2 separate regions of the Homo sapiens genome follow, and region 2 is linked to region 1. The links are contacts of gene promoters, found by promoter capture Hi-C in human tissues and cell types (Jung and others, 2019). All regions are on one chromosome and are shown on one strand. Each heading gives the region's core, a stretch centred on a gene start or on the middle of the fragment in contact. The rest is flanking DNA. Distances are from core to core; before and after follow the strand shown. Region 1 holds the start of JPH1 (junctophilin 1). Region 2 has its middle 160 kb from the start of JPH1.

Evidence for each region. Contacts are between HindIII fragments. The study calls those that stand out against the background at their distance.
Region 2: a contact is called between a fragment that was not itself captured here and the fragment with the promoter of JPH1 in region 1, in 1 of the 25 tissues and cell types used here (dorsolateral prefrontal cortex).

The regions. Positions count from the first base shown.
Region 1 is chr8:74,318,544-74,325,992 of GRCh38, forward strand. It overlaps JPH1 (junctophilin 1), which reads right to left and starts at 2,997. Exons shown (of 6, transcript NM_020647.4): 1 at 2,366-2,997. The coding sequence starts at 2,744. RefSeq lists an enhancer at 2,064-2,954 and a silencer at 3,048-3,147. The HindIII fragment of the contact is 7,240 bases long and covers 17-7,256 here.
Region 2 is chr8:74,162,664-74,170,112 of GRCh38, forward strand. No RefSeq gene overlaps it. Among named protein-coding and RNA genes, the nearest start is that of JPH1, 160 kb to the right of the region's middle. The HindIII fragment of the contact is 5,655 bases long and covers 440-6,094 here.

The DNA.
Region 1 (7,449 bases), core at 1,747-4,246:
TTATTGTTAATATTCAGGGGGTTTCTATTTCAGCAACATGTAATACACAAATCACTAATAAAATAAGTGATACGTCTCACATGGAATTACTGCTTCCTTCCTCCTCCAGTTTAATGTCACCACAAAAAAACTCGGAATCAGATTTTCCCTGAATCTGATACAGGGTGTACAGGGATGGACATGTGGCGATGGGGAGAGTGCAAACAAAAACAAGCTAACTCCTTAGTGAGAACAGCAGAAAACAAGCTAATTTTTTAGTGATATTCCTATTTTGGCCAAAACCTTTGTATGAAATAAGTTACAGCAATAAACTTGCTTTAGACTCCCTTTTTATGATTGAGAACTTTCTAATGAAATAGTTACATATGAGACAGTAGAAAATCTATTAGCATAGAGTAGACATTCAGTAGTGATTTTTAAGGTTTTTCTTCCTAACTGTAGCATATTAGATTTTTTTTTTTGGTAGAAGAAGAAAACCACAGTACCACCCAGGATGATGCCAAGTTTTAAGTTTTTTTTTAAGTTTATTTTAAAACTGAAGGCAGATTATTCATAAAATCATTCTGGAGACTTATTTGGGTTTCTACGACATGTACACAGACAGCCTCTACTGTGCTATATATATTTTGATTACTAGGTATAATGAATACTCTAAACCAAGAGAGTGTGTTTAATGAATAGTATCTTTAAAAGGAGACGATTTTTAACCTTCCAAAACTGAAGAGAACCATCCCTGGCCTTCTTAAAAGATTATAAAATAATGCACACATTTAAAACAATAAATTTTGCCTTCTACTTTTGAGCATGGAATTTAGTTATATAGTAGAGCTGGGGCCTCCAACAAAATCCAGTCACAAACTGACATATTTACAGCGCTGTCAACCAGGTACTTTATGCCCATTCAGAACATTTAAGGGTCCCAATTAACTACTGTGAAACTCGGGACTCAGCCCCACATAAAACTATTAGAGAACGTTTTTTTCTTTTAATCCATGAGAACCATATGCTTAATTTATACTGTAGGATGAAAAGATGTCCTTTTTAGCAAGTTCTACCATTCTGCCATTTTGCATTTGAAACACGGCCCAAGTGTTCTGACTAAGTGAAGTGTACAAATTGTGTAAGCTTTTATATAAGCAATGGTATAAATGGGGTTGCAGTGGGCTGGAGAAACTTTTAATTGCATCCCTTTAATATCCTCCAACTCTGAGCTGCTTAATTCCAAAAAGTGATGTCGCCTCCTACAACCCTTTTCAACTAAATATGATTATGTTTATCAGGAAATGCACTTTGCTAAAGCATAAGCTATTCATGAATATCTTTCTCAGCGTATTACACAAGGAAATTCATCAGGTTTTGACACCTGTTTCAATAATGTATACTTTTCCTAATAAAAGAGGAACTTCTGTCCTGGTATATACACAATCTCTTTGGCAAATATTGTTAAATATTAAAATAAGGTGATCTTTGTTCACAGCCAGGAATACTGGCTTAGGTCACACATAATGCAAATTATTGTTTCAGTATTGCCATTCTCAGGAGTAGTAGCTGCTAACTTAGCAGCTATAGGAACACACCTGCTAATTGTATTCTTTAAAATGTAGACTTCATTACCCATTTCTAAAATATCTTCCTAGTAATTTGTCCAAGATCTCCAGGTCAGCAAAGACTGCTACTCTTTTAAGACCAATACTTTAAGAAACGGAATGAAAACTAGGAACTCACACACTCTGAACTCCACCTGCATCAGGTGGCCTTTCTGCTCCCATAACTAGGACGTTTCCAAATGCACCCCCAAATAAGGTACAATTCCCCAACATCCTAGTTACGGGGTTCTGGCTTCTATCTTTAGGCTACTGGAGGACCAGAAGCGAAATACGACTCCACGTGAAACCAATCCCGGGAGCGGTCAGCACGGACCGCCAACCTCACCCGCTCAGGGTGTTCGCTCTAACTCCACGGGAGTGGCGATTTCAAACCCGGCCGGGAGAGGGAGGGATCAGGAACGTAATGTGACGGGCTCAAGTGACAGCGTCCTCTCTCCAGCCCAACCCTCCCGGGCGGCGCTCCCTCCCGGTGGCAGCGCAGCGCTGGCGCCGGCCAGGTACATTCACGCCTAGCTCCCCTGAGTGTGGATACACGGCCCGCTCCAAGAACGGGGTCAGATCCAGCCCTCGCGCCCCAGTCCGGTCCCAGCGCCCTCTCTGGGAAAGGCGGGCGCGGGCGCGGGGGTGGGAGGCGCCCCCAGGTGTTTTGGCGGGTTTCCGGACACGTGCGCCCGGCGTCCTCCCCGCTTCCCCGCAGCCGGGGCAGAGCCCACCGCACCAGCTCGCGGAGCAGCCGAGCCGCCCGTTACGCCGCTCACCTCCGTCCCCGTAGGTCTCCACGCCGTACCCGTCTTGCAGCCCGTTACTCCAGGTACCCTCGTAGCGAGCGGGGGTGCACAGGCTCTGCCGGACCCCGTAGCGCCCCTTGAAACCATGTGACCACTCCCCCCGGTACATCCACTTGCCCTTCGTCTCCACCCCCAGCCCGTGCCGCTTGCCCTGCGCCCAGTAGCCCTGGTAGGTGTTGCCGCTGGGCCAGGTGTAGCCTCCGACCACCTCGAAGCCGTGCGACCAGGAGCCCGAGTACTCGCCCTGGCCCTTGGGCCCCGTGCAGATGCCATGCCCGTGCGCCTTGCCCTCCTCCCAGCCGCCGCAGTAGGTGCCGCCATCGTCGAAGTCGAACCTTCCGCCCGTCATTCGGGGGGCAGCCCCGGCGCGCTCCCCGCAGGGGCACGGACGCGGGCAGTGCTGGGCACGGCAGGGTGTAGCTCGGGGGTGGGGGCCCGGCGGGCGAGCTCACGACAGCGCCCTGGGCAGCTCGCGCTGCCGCTCGGCTCCAGTCCGACGCCGCCCCCGTCCTCCCTCCTCTTTTGCCGCCGCCACCGCCGCCTTCCTCCTCCTCCTCCTCCTCCTTCGCCGCCGCCGCCTGGGCCAGCGCCGCGCGCGAGAGGACAGCCCAGGTTCCCGAGCGGACCTTCAGCTGCTCCCGCCCGCCCACGTGAGCCGGGCACCGCCCCGCGCCCGCCCCTCGTCCCCTCCCCGGGCGCCGAGGCCCGGCCCCGCGGCGCTCCCGCCCCACCGGGCCCTGCCCCCAGCCCCGGGAGCCGCCGCTTCCTCGGCAGGCGGGCGCGCGCGGGGACCGGCTGGCGCGCATGTGTTCGCGCAGTGGGATGCCGGTGGGAGGGCGAGTGTACCCGGGGACGCACGAGAATCCCTGCCTGGAGATGAAGGCGCGGCTGCCTGTGTGGGGGCCGCTCGCGGGCGCCGGAGCCCCCGGTGTTTGTGTTTGGGGTTTTTCAAAGTGGTTAAGCTCCTGTGAGTGCGGCCACGTGTGTGTTGAGGGAAAACTCATTGTATGCGTGTTTGTCTGCATGGGGTTTGTAGTTGCATTGTTTTCGCATTCCAACTTGTGTACTGTTGCATTTGTCATGCTCAGCTGTCATCGTGAATTAATATCGCCTAGATATATGTATGCATGTGATGTAAATCTGCGGCAGCCTAGATATAATTGTGCAGAGTGTTCTTTTACACCTACCCGTTTCAAAGCACACGTGTTTGCATTTATTTAATGAAGACACTGAGGGTGAGCAGTACAGTTTGAAAAAGCACAGAATATATTGGTTAGTTTTTTATTAATAGTGATGAAGAGGATGTTTTCAATCGGCCTTTGCAGTGGTACAGGATATTCCTTTTACATTAGAGCCTGCCCCCTCTCGTGCCTCGTTTGTGCTTCTTAACAGCCTTAGAGATTCTTGAGCCTGGAGCTGTGTGCCCAACAGGTAGACGGCTCGGTCTGTGTACATTGTATAAGTGTCTGGAATGCACACCTCTCCACTGGTATCCACTGTTTAAGAAAGTAAATAGAGGTTTGCAAGGAGGAATATGGTAAGTAAAGCACTGCTCTAAACTTGCAAAGAAACTGTGACCTACAAAACCAGGGACAGATGTCAGCTGGTCTACTTTCTAGCTACAACACTGCTTTGTCGAATTCACTTTAGGCAACTCTTCTAAACTTTTAAACCTCCATTTCACCATCTTCTGAATGGGACTAACAAGATTTGCCTTTCTCTTTCTATATTCGGTAATAACTGAGTATATTGTGGCTGCAGTGCCAAACCAAAAATTAGAGATTTGGTAATAGGCAAGTTGGATCAGCATTGCCTCTGGTGAGAGAAAGCATTATTCTCCACCTCACCCTCAAAATACCCACGGGAGAAACTTCTCCCACTTTCACAGCCTAGGGTCTTAGTTTGGCCTCTCAAGGAAACTGATTTGGAGTGTATTCCTGCTATTTCTTAGGCTGAGAGGCCTTTGGGTGACTATGCGAGCATCAGAAGCTGCCAAAGGTTCTCTCACTAAGTATTTGATAATCAGATATAGATATAAGGACAGGTGTCAGGAAGACAGCCTGGGAAAAAGTAGACTAAACTGCACAGAAAAGGAACTGAAATTGACCTTGATTGCCTCTCTCTCAGGACGAGAGCCGACCTTTCCTACTTATCTGGCTGAAAGACTGAAAGAAAAATCTCAGTTTATGCAGAACCAAATCACCAAAGAGAATTAGAAGCCCTCATCCATGGCACTGCCCGCAGAGTTGCCAGGAATAGTGCTTACCCTAGTGGCCTGAAATAATTATGCATCTCTCGAAGCATCTTGTCCTGGACTGGGGATTGATTTAGGCCGCTGGGAAGATGAGGGCCAGGGCTTTGCGGCTGAGCCATAATTCCATTTCCCTGTTATGGGATACACCAGAATCAGGAGCTAATGTAGAAAGATGCATTCCCATATATTTTGAGGTTCTGTATGATATGAGAAAAAGTGTGGTTGCTCAAGCCAATATTTTGAATGGGGGAGTCTCTTTCTAAACTAGACTTCCTCATAGAGTAGTCTTTGTCCCTTTGCCTTTTTTTTTTTTTTGGATCCACCCAGTGTGTTAGGACCCATATATGTTCTTTAAGGGGATAAATTTTGGAAACCTTTATCTCTTTATTTATTACTCTTCCTAATTAGTTGTCATGCAAATGAGGGATTTTCTGGAACACAGAGCACAAACCAAGTTTCTGGCTTCTGTAATGGATATCTAGTCTATTTGTGGTGGGAGGTGCACACACATCTGGATTGAATATGAAGATTTGGGGAGGAAAAAAGACATGGCCATTTATTGCTTACTCTTTTCCTGTGGCTATCCCTAATAGATGCCTTGCAAAGAACCTTAATTAAAAGTGAGACTTTACCACTAGGTATGTATGATTAAATTTTAACTAATCTTAATCCTAGCCTAGCTCTGATGTTGACTTTCTTTATGAAAGAAAGTTGGTATTTTTGGTAAATTACTAAACAATTTTTGGCAAATAACCATATAAACCATGCTTCCATTTACCAGCTGCCATCACAATGGAATGTTTACCCAGTCACGAAGACATATGTGTTAGTGTAAGTGTTCAGGGTCAATGGTAACGGTTGGAGAAGACGGGGAGAGAATACTAGGAAGAGGAAGAGATGCTGAGAGTGATGGCATAGCAGATAGTAGACAGTGGAATAATGTTGCAGTTTAATAGTCAGGGTTAGTAATGTCCTTATTTTCCCTCTCCCTCTGAACCTTTGCCCTGGATAAGGGGGAGTTGAATTTAGCTTTAAGAAGGGATTAGTAAGAAGAGAATGTGAATGTTGGTTTGACAGGTGGAACGGGGGAGGCCATGAAAATCCAGGGGCCAGCAACTACCCTATAGTTTGTTTTCCTCCATGTTAAAAACCTAGTTATTATATATTTCCATTCTAAAAAATTTTATAACATATTGTAAGCTATTTTGAGTGTGACTATGACCAGTTAACAACATATTAGTAAGGATGTTTTGCTGGAATTTAATGATGTCTTTCAAAAAATGAAGGTGTATTTAAAAATTTATTGGTGACTTCATTTTATTTACATAGTAGATTAATTATTGGCTGGACAAGGTGGCTCATGCCTGTAATCCCAGCACTTTGGGAGGCTGAGGCGGGAGGATCATTTAAGCCCAAGAGTTTGAGACTAGCCTGGGCAAAATAGGAAGACCCCATCTCTAAAAGAAAAAACAAAAAAACAAAAAAACCCCGACTGATTATTGAGAGTTTTTAATAAAAAATTTACAAATGACAAAAAGCTAATCTGTAGGTGTTTATTGTCTAAAAACCATGATTCAAAGTGTGTAGAAAAACACATACAATTAAAATCACTTGATATATAAGTCAAAAAGTGTTACCATCTTGATTTATACAATCAAATAATCAAAATTTGAATATTTGCAATAAAGAATTTACAAACTCAAGAAATTTGTCCGTGATAAATATAAAAATTAAGAAATATGGTCAGAAACTTTGCAGGCAGTGTGAAATCAGAAGAGGAAGAGAATTCCAAAATTAATGGTCTTCAAGTCTTTTATGGCAACTACTGTATGACAGATACCATACTAAGCTTTTTTTACAGGTATGAATTCATTTAAATCTCATAGTTGTAGATGATTTGTACTAGTCGTACAACCATTTCACAGAAGGAGAAAATAAGGTTTAGCACATTCATAGGTACAGAATTATTCAAGGTAGAAATGGTTGAGGTGGGATTCAAACCCAGGTCTGTGTGACTTTAGAGGAGGTTCTTTATTCCTGTCCTTGATTGGAGAGAGGATGAGAACACATTGAGAGCTTTCAAATGCTCGGCGGAGAACAACAAGGTGCAGTAAAGATGACTTTTATTTCTTATTTTTTTAGATTAGCTGCCTGGGTGAATGATAATGTTGCTGTCTAGATTTTTTTTTTTTTAAAGGAGGAAGGAGAGTAAATTATGGGGGCTGCAGAAGATATATTTATTTAGGAGACAATGATCCAGAAGTATACCCCAGAGATGATCAGTAGGCAATTCAGTAGGAGAGGTCAAAAATTAAAAATAAGTAGGTTGATAAGTAAATAATGCCCATTTTTCTTCTTCCTCTGACAGCCGTTGTTCAGTAACATCCCCTTCTGAGACTTCCACTATTCACTCGGGCCTCGGACATAGCCTGGACTTGACTTTGATCCAGCAAGTAAGGTCCAGTAAGGCCAACTCTCTGGAATTTGAGAGTATAGGTCCAGCTGAAAATTGCAAACTGGGATTTTACAATTCCACTCTGACGGCGTTCCCTCATTGCCACTCTCACTGAACACTCCGTTGGTTCTCCTCAAAGTCCTCCATGCTACATAGCACAACTTTTCCCAGGCAGATTCCTGATATTTATCACCATCCTGGAGCCCATCTCCACTGCAGCTTTCTCCTGCTGAGCAGAGGACACTGTCTTCTGTCTCACAGAGGAAGAAGGAGCTAGGAACACTTGCACCTTTCCTCTCTTCAAAAACTTTACACAGGTTCCCATTTTCTTCCTCTTCCCATTCA
Region 2 (7,449 bases), core at 2,017-4,516, 160 kb before region 1:
TAATCTCAAAAAGTGCTCTGTTATGGACAGAGCCACATTAGGCTGTTAGGAGACACCAAATATTTTGCTCTTTGTTATCATCGATGACTACATGAAATCTTACCTGTTGCTATATTTGTATGTACCATTACATTCAAACACAAATAATGACAGCCAACATCCTACTGAATGTTTAGTAGACACTTGGCACTTTCTAATGCTTTACAAGTATTAATTGATTTAATTCTATGCTCTATATCAAACCTGTGAATTAGATACTGTTATTATCTTCATTTCACAGATGAGAAATTGAGTTAGAGTGGTAAAATAATAAGACTGAAGCCTAGCAATCACAAAGTGGAGAGCCGGGATTTGAACAAAAGCAGCCAGCTCCGGAGCTCACGTACTTCATCATTTCTACGTCCTGGTTGATAGCAATCCCTTTTACTCACTATTTTGCCTGAAATGATTTGCTCATACTGTTATGGCACTGAGCTCAAGACAGCAAGATGGTGGGTGCACCCACCCCACTCCACGTGTGTTAGTGTCATTCTTTCCCACTGCTTACATTGCACTGTTAAGGCTGGCTCTCTGCTTACCATTAGGAGCCAAAGTGAGAGGGTAGGACGGTTCAGTATGACTCCAATCCCATTAATGGAAAAACAACACCAATTGTGTGCTCAATGAGAGTCAGTAGGATTAACTTTATCTTTGTACAGATTTACTAATTCCCAAATTGAACATTCAAATGAGGACTCTTCAGCTCATTTCCTTCCATTTAATGGGAAGAGGCAGGAATCATAAAGGGTGCGATGTGAGACAAGACAGCCACGTGACACAAATGGCAATTTCTATTTGAGAGAAGTTCTGCCCCATTGGCTTAGATGGAGAAAATAATGGTATGAAGGGGCAAATAAAATTTCTGGTATTAGAGTTTTAAGGGATTATAATTTATTATAAACTCCTCTGTTTTTCCTGCCTAAGTTCAAAACTGAAGGATGGAAGCAAGAGAAAGGTTAATGCTAAGAGCCACCCTTGCTTTAGACAGGCATTTTCACCAGACGTGGAACAGGAGGGCGATAGCTGGCTTCCTTGCATGGACACACCCCTCATCTCCTAGGAAAGTGCCCGGAACATACCTCTCTGCAGCCAGGCTGGCTGTCAGAGAAACCAACCAGGGGCTGAGAGGAGCATGCCCAGATCATTTTTCCGAGCTCGTCCGTCAGACAATTCACTTCTTCAGGGGATGGGAAGGGGACTGAGGAGTGGGACAAGTGACCAGCTGTGTTAGTCTAGTTGATATTCTTCTCTCTAGAAACATAAGGAGATGAGGAGTGGGAACACATGGCAACCTTCACTAACTCCAGGTTGTTTTGTATTGTATATGGTAACTGCAGTAGAACAGTAGGAATCTGATTACCATCATAATGAGACTATAACACTGCTAAATTAAGTTTAGCCTAAAGCCACTTCCTTACATATTTTAAGTTTGAAGAGGTTTCTCCATACATAGTGAACTGTAACCCAATGTGCAAACAGAAGTGCAAGCAACCTACTCTTGTAACAAGAGCTAATCACAGCAGACAAGTTTAGACCAATCACAGGCAGTAGACTGTTCAAGCCGTGTTCAAATAAGGTAAACTCCAAGCTGTAGCCAGTCTGGCTGTTTCTGCACCTTACTTCTGTTTTCTGTATGTCATTTTCCTTTTTCTGACCATAAATGTGATCCAACCACGAGATAGCCCCCAGGTCGCTCTGGCCCTATTCTGGTTCTGGGTGTTGCTCTATTTACAAATTGTTTTTTGCTCAATTAAACTTTGTCTAAAGTTTTCCTTTTACCAACACAGAAATACACAAGACAGAAACACACATTGGGAGGCTAACAGGGCAGAGAGGCTTTTTGATGTCCAGTGTGGGCTGGTAAGTAGGGGAGGAGTAGAGGCCCTAAGGAGATCCTGCAGGGACCCTCTGAGCATTCCATGGAAAGTTATGGCAATAGACAGGAAGAAGGTGCAATGGTCCAAAACTATTGCTTTGCTACAAGAAAATATTACATTTGTTCTTCCTTTCCAATTATTGGAAACTGTAGAGGTACAAGTAGAAGATTTTAAAATAAGACAACCAATTATACAGTGGAAGACGAGACATTAAAAAATAAGCTGGATGCAGTGGCTCATGCCTGTAATCCCAGCACTTTGGAAGGTGGAGGCAGGAGGATCACTTGAAGCCAGGAGTTTGAGATCAGCCTGGCCAATAAAGGGGGACCCTGTCTTTACGTAAAATATATTATGCAAGCATGATGGTGTGTGTCTATAGTCCTGGCTAGTAGGAGACTGAGGTGGGAGGATCACTTGAGCCTGGGAGGTTGAGGCTGCAGTGAGCCATGATACACACTACTGCATTCCAGTCTGGGTGACAGAGCAAGATCCTGAAGAAGATGCCCCAAGAAGATGCATTAATTCTTCTGCCTTGTGCATGAGGTAGAGGACAGACATGAATGGGAAACCTGGGGAATTTGGGACTTCCTGTGAAAATTTGAGAATTCCTGTGGCTTTTCTAATTGTTATTACTAAACTTTTATAATGTTTATTTTCCAAAACCCTTGGTAAGGTTATTGGTGGATATTTTAGCTATTCTTAAGGTGATTCAGAGGAGGTAGTGGTGAGAATCAACATATCCCATGATACCAGTTATCTGGAGAATGCAGGTAAACTGAAATTGACACAGTTCTTTATGAAATAAACAGAGATTTATGTATTCATTTGTCTTTGACACAGAGAAGAACTTAGAATGCTTCTGGTGAGTGCCACATTAACGGTCCTGTCACAGCCTTAATCTCTCTGTGCTTTGGATTCCTGTTTAAGAAATGTCCTGGTATTTTTTTATATAAAAATGTAAGAGTGAGTCTCTACAAGCACCTGATGTTGCTTAGAAGAAGGAAAATACTTTTACTTGAGGCTTCTATAAGTAACACGAGAAGACTTTGTAAATTCTAAATACAAATGTAAAAGCATTTGGCTTTAAACATTTCATTGGCATGACTTTTCTTTTTATGTGTCATAGCTTGCTTATTACCGTAGATGTGACATCTTACCTAGGCCCTGCTTTTAGGCTCCACGTAAGGATAGTCACAATTGTCCTCCTCCTCCACATTTTTCTCTTGAATAATGTCTTCACTCTCCCAAAATATACATGACAACACGTGGCTAGCAACTCCTCAGTGAGCTACAGGAGCCCCATTCTAGCCTTATTCCTTTACATGGCCAAAGCTTTCTTGGAGGATGATTACCTATAGTTTAATATATTGCCTTTTACTTGAGTTTATGGGCACAGAAACGCATGATACACCAGCCTTCCCTTCTCCTCGCTGTTTTCCTTTTAGGGGAGTTAGCAGAATATTGCATGTTGCCAGAAGAGACCTCCCATGGTGCAGTCTCCTTGTTCACAGCACGGAAGCTGCCAGAATAGGAAACAGAGTGGGAAGACGGAGCAGTGGAGCGAGGGTGGCCCAGGACACGCGAGGGGCCCGCCATAGCCATCCAGCCTGGTCCTGAGACCTGAGTAAGTGGTGCTCCAGAAAAGAAACTGGGCATTTTAGTTACCTGTTAGCCCTTTCATTTGTGCAGGTGATGTGTTCTTAGTCCCATTTTGATTAATAATTAACATTCGCTCAGTTTACAAAACACTTTTCCTTGTGTTATTTTATTGGGCCTTCTCAACAACCTGGAATATATTTATCATCTTTTTACCGGATAGGGGAAGAGAACTGAGGTTCAAAGAAATTAATCCAAAGCCATGAAAGCCAGTAGGTGGGAAAAACAGAACTTGAATTTAGGTTTTCTGGTTCCAAATTCTATGTTTTTTCTATGAAAAACACCCTCTCCCTTACCCTGATGATTTCAAGTAAACTAAAATTTTAAGCCATGTTCAATTTCTAAGAAGAGATAAAAAATATTTTTTGAGCACACACTATGTGCCAGGCATTGCATTGTGTGGTTTTCCTACTTTATATCCTCGAGTCCCCACACAAACTCTATGAGTTATGCACCGTCATCCCCATTTTACAGATGAGGAGGTAAGTACCTTGACCGAAGTCACATGGCTTGTAAGTGGCAGAATTGGGATTTGGATGCCAGTCTTGTGCTCTGATGCTCTGCTCTTAATTACGGCATTATGTTGCCTCCCTAAGAGCTGGTTTAATCTCGATGACATTGAGAGTCGTCTTTGAAGCCAGTAAGTGAGAAATTGGAGGGAGAAGTCCCATAGGTGCCTGGAAAACACAGTAATGGATCCTTAAAGAACTCATGGCAGGCAGGGCTCTCTTGCTCACAGGCAACCTGATATGCTGATGCAGGAAAGTATGTGGTGTGTTGTCCTGGGGTGAAGCCCAGGGGCTTGGAAAGACTTCCAGCTTTTACCGTTTGTCCTTTTAAAGGCAATTAGAAGACAGAAAGGCTGCTTAGGAAACTATAAGCTCATGAGCTGATTTTAAAACATCCAAGGACAAGCTACCATGTCTGAAAGTAATTCAACACCTTTGGTTAGCGAATTCTTCTTGTAGTGGTAATGCTAGGGACAATGACACTTAGTGGTTTTTTTGTTTATTTTAGCATGTAAAAATTTAAGGTGCCATCTTGGATTATACCTTGAGTATGTGTGATTTTGAAAAAGTGAAGTTGCATCTTTTGCTCCAGATCTAGTCTCATTATTATAGCAACAAAGAACTCCAGCAGTAAGATATTTTCTTGCAGTCTCTTAGTAATGACACTTGCTTTGGGAAAGTTCTAGGGAGCCATAATTACAATGCACCTGCGGAAGAAAACATGATTTACTGTTTTGTTCACTAACTTGAAAATCTTGAGAAAGTGCGAATTTCCCATGAGTTGGCTCAGTCTGGCCTCTGCTTTTGTGGATTCCTGACATTGGTATGTTGTAACACACCTGTTTGATCAAAATTGGTGTTGCAGTTATGTTTTGGAGGGTAAAAGAAGGTAGGAGAAGCATTTTGCTTTAGCAAATTGTGAAATACAAATTCCTGTATGGAAGGTGAGTACATGATTATTGTGCAAGTCGGGATGCTTTTGGAAGTGAAAGAGGGCACTTTGCCTCATTATACCAGACAATACCCTAGATCACAACTGTCCCAGAGAAATGGGACATATGCTCACCCTGCTTTCCTGAGTCTTAGTTTGCAAGGAAGGGGTTTCTCTAAACCCAATGCCAGGTGTTGTCAATTATGTACACCCATCACCCTCCTTTCTTCTAGGATGAGCCATAGAGGTATCTAGGGATTATCTTGATATAGAAATGTCATGCACTGTTTTACTACTCTGATATCCTCTCCAGGCCATCCTGTCTTGGGCAGTTTACTTCCTTGCCTAAGAAATACCAATCACTCTGCCCCTCTTGCCTAAGAAGCAAGATGTGATGGATAGCAGGCTGCACTGGCTCCGCTAAGTCAGAAATCATGGGTTTGAACCTTGGTGCTGCTTCTTTCCCTCCGTGCAAACTTAGAGAATTTACTTTCTTTTCTTTGAAACGCAGTTCTCCATTCTGTGGAATGGGGTTGATGATTAATACCTATCCAGTCTATCTTTGTGGTTCATTGTAAGGGTCAGGGAGCAGAAGCGTGTGATAAACAGTAGAGCACTATCCAAATGTTGGCTCTTAATGAAGCACTGCTTTCACTGTTAACTAGCAGAGGAACACTGGGCAAGTTATGTCACCTTTCTAAGCCTTCCTTTTCCTTATCCATAGGAAGAGGAGCATATATCTGCTTCTCCAAGGGGCTGATTAAATATATAGAGCACCTGCTCTACACAAATGTGAATTAGCTTCTTTTTAAATTGGGCTTTTCCTGGAATTTTGTAACTGTTTCGTTATTTGGAATTTTGTTTGCTTTTCTCAACATGGTTGTCAGGGATTGATCTCTTGCTGTCTTAAATGTCCTCACTTCAGACAAAAGAACACCGGTAAGCGCCACTTGAGTGGCACCCAGGCAGGAGTGAAGATGCTGACTGGTGCCGAAGCTGGGAGGATTCAGGGGACAGGCTCAGGAGTGACAGACTGCAAGCCTGCCAAGAAACAGCACAGGGAGCTCCTTCCCTCACGCTGCTAAAAATACTGCTGGGAAAGTAATTTCTCTGGTCCTATTTTAGAAATCAGAGACAGATCCACCATATTCATGTTTGGATCCTGGTCAGCCTTCTGGTTTGAGTTTTAAATTTCAAGATATTTTTTTTTTGGTGGGGGGTAGGGCAGTTAAAACAGTCTGCAGAGTTTGAGAAGCAAAATTTGAAAACACTGTTAAGGAAGATATGTTTTGGGCATTATGTAATTACTAGCAATTATTATTATTATTTTGAGACAGAGTCTTGCTCTGTTGTCCAGGCTGGAGTGCAATGATGCCATCACACAACTCACTGTAGCCTCAACCTCCCAGGCTCAAGTGATCCTCCCACCTTGGCCTCCCCAGTAGTTGGGACTACAGGTACATACTACCTTGCCCAGTTAACTTTTTTATTTTTTGTAGTGATGGTGTCTCACTATGTTGCCTAGGCTGGTCTCAAGCTCCTGGGTTCAAGTGATCTTCCTTCCTCAGTTTCCCAAAGTGCCAGGATTACAGGTGTGAACCACCAGGCCTGGCCGCAATTTTTGAAAAGGCTTTATTAAAGACAATCAAAATGTCATGTGACAAAATCCTTCCAGCTGTTTATTTGCCCATGTCATTGATTTTATACACACACACACACACACACACACACACATAAATATTTACTTAAGGTAGATTTATATAAAGATATTTTCCTCTTTCTTTCCCATTCCTTAACTTTCTTTCCCTCTTTTTTTCCATCTTTCTCTTCTGAAAACTTCCTTCTGTCCATTTTTTTTCACTCCCTCTTTCTTTTCTTTCTCAGTGACAGTTTCATGCTGAGACAGAGGCCCTCCCGGTGTGTGGAAGTTTGTCTGTCTCTGCTGGAGCCTGTCTGCTCTGGCCTTTCACTGTGTACTTTGTTCACCCTCTTTCACAAACATTTACTGAGCAGCTATTAGTACAAAACACTGTATCTGGCCCTTGGAGAGGAGTGGGGAAAATACAAAGATGAATAGCACATGGTGTTTACTCTTAAAGAATCCTACAAAGTAGTGGAAGAGACATAAGTTCAAGATCAAAACAACAAGGGAATGAATGTGTGGGCTGGGGGTGGGAGGAGGAGTGGTATTTGTGTGTGGAAGCAGGCCAGTTGCCTAAAAGTCAATTTCCCAAAATCATTTCACCAAATGACCAATATACTGAAAGACCAATTGACTGAAAATCAATTTGCAATTGGCCCAGAGCTGCCAGGTGTTGCTATAGAAAGAATTCACCTGAGTTTCAACAGGGACAACCTCAGTATTAAAAGAGGGACCACTTTTAAGTTCCGGCCCAGGGATATATCTATGGTTGAGAATCCTCTTCGATTTGGCCAC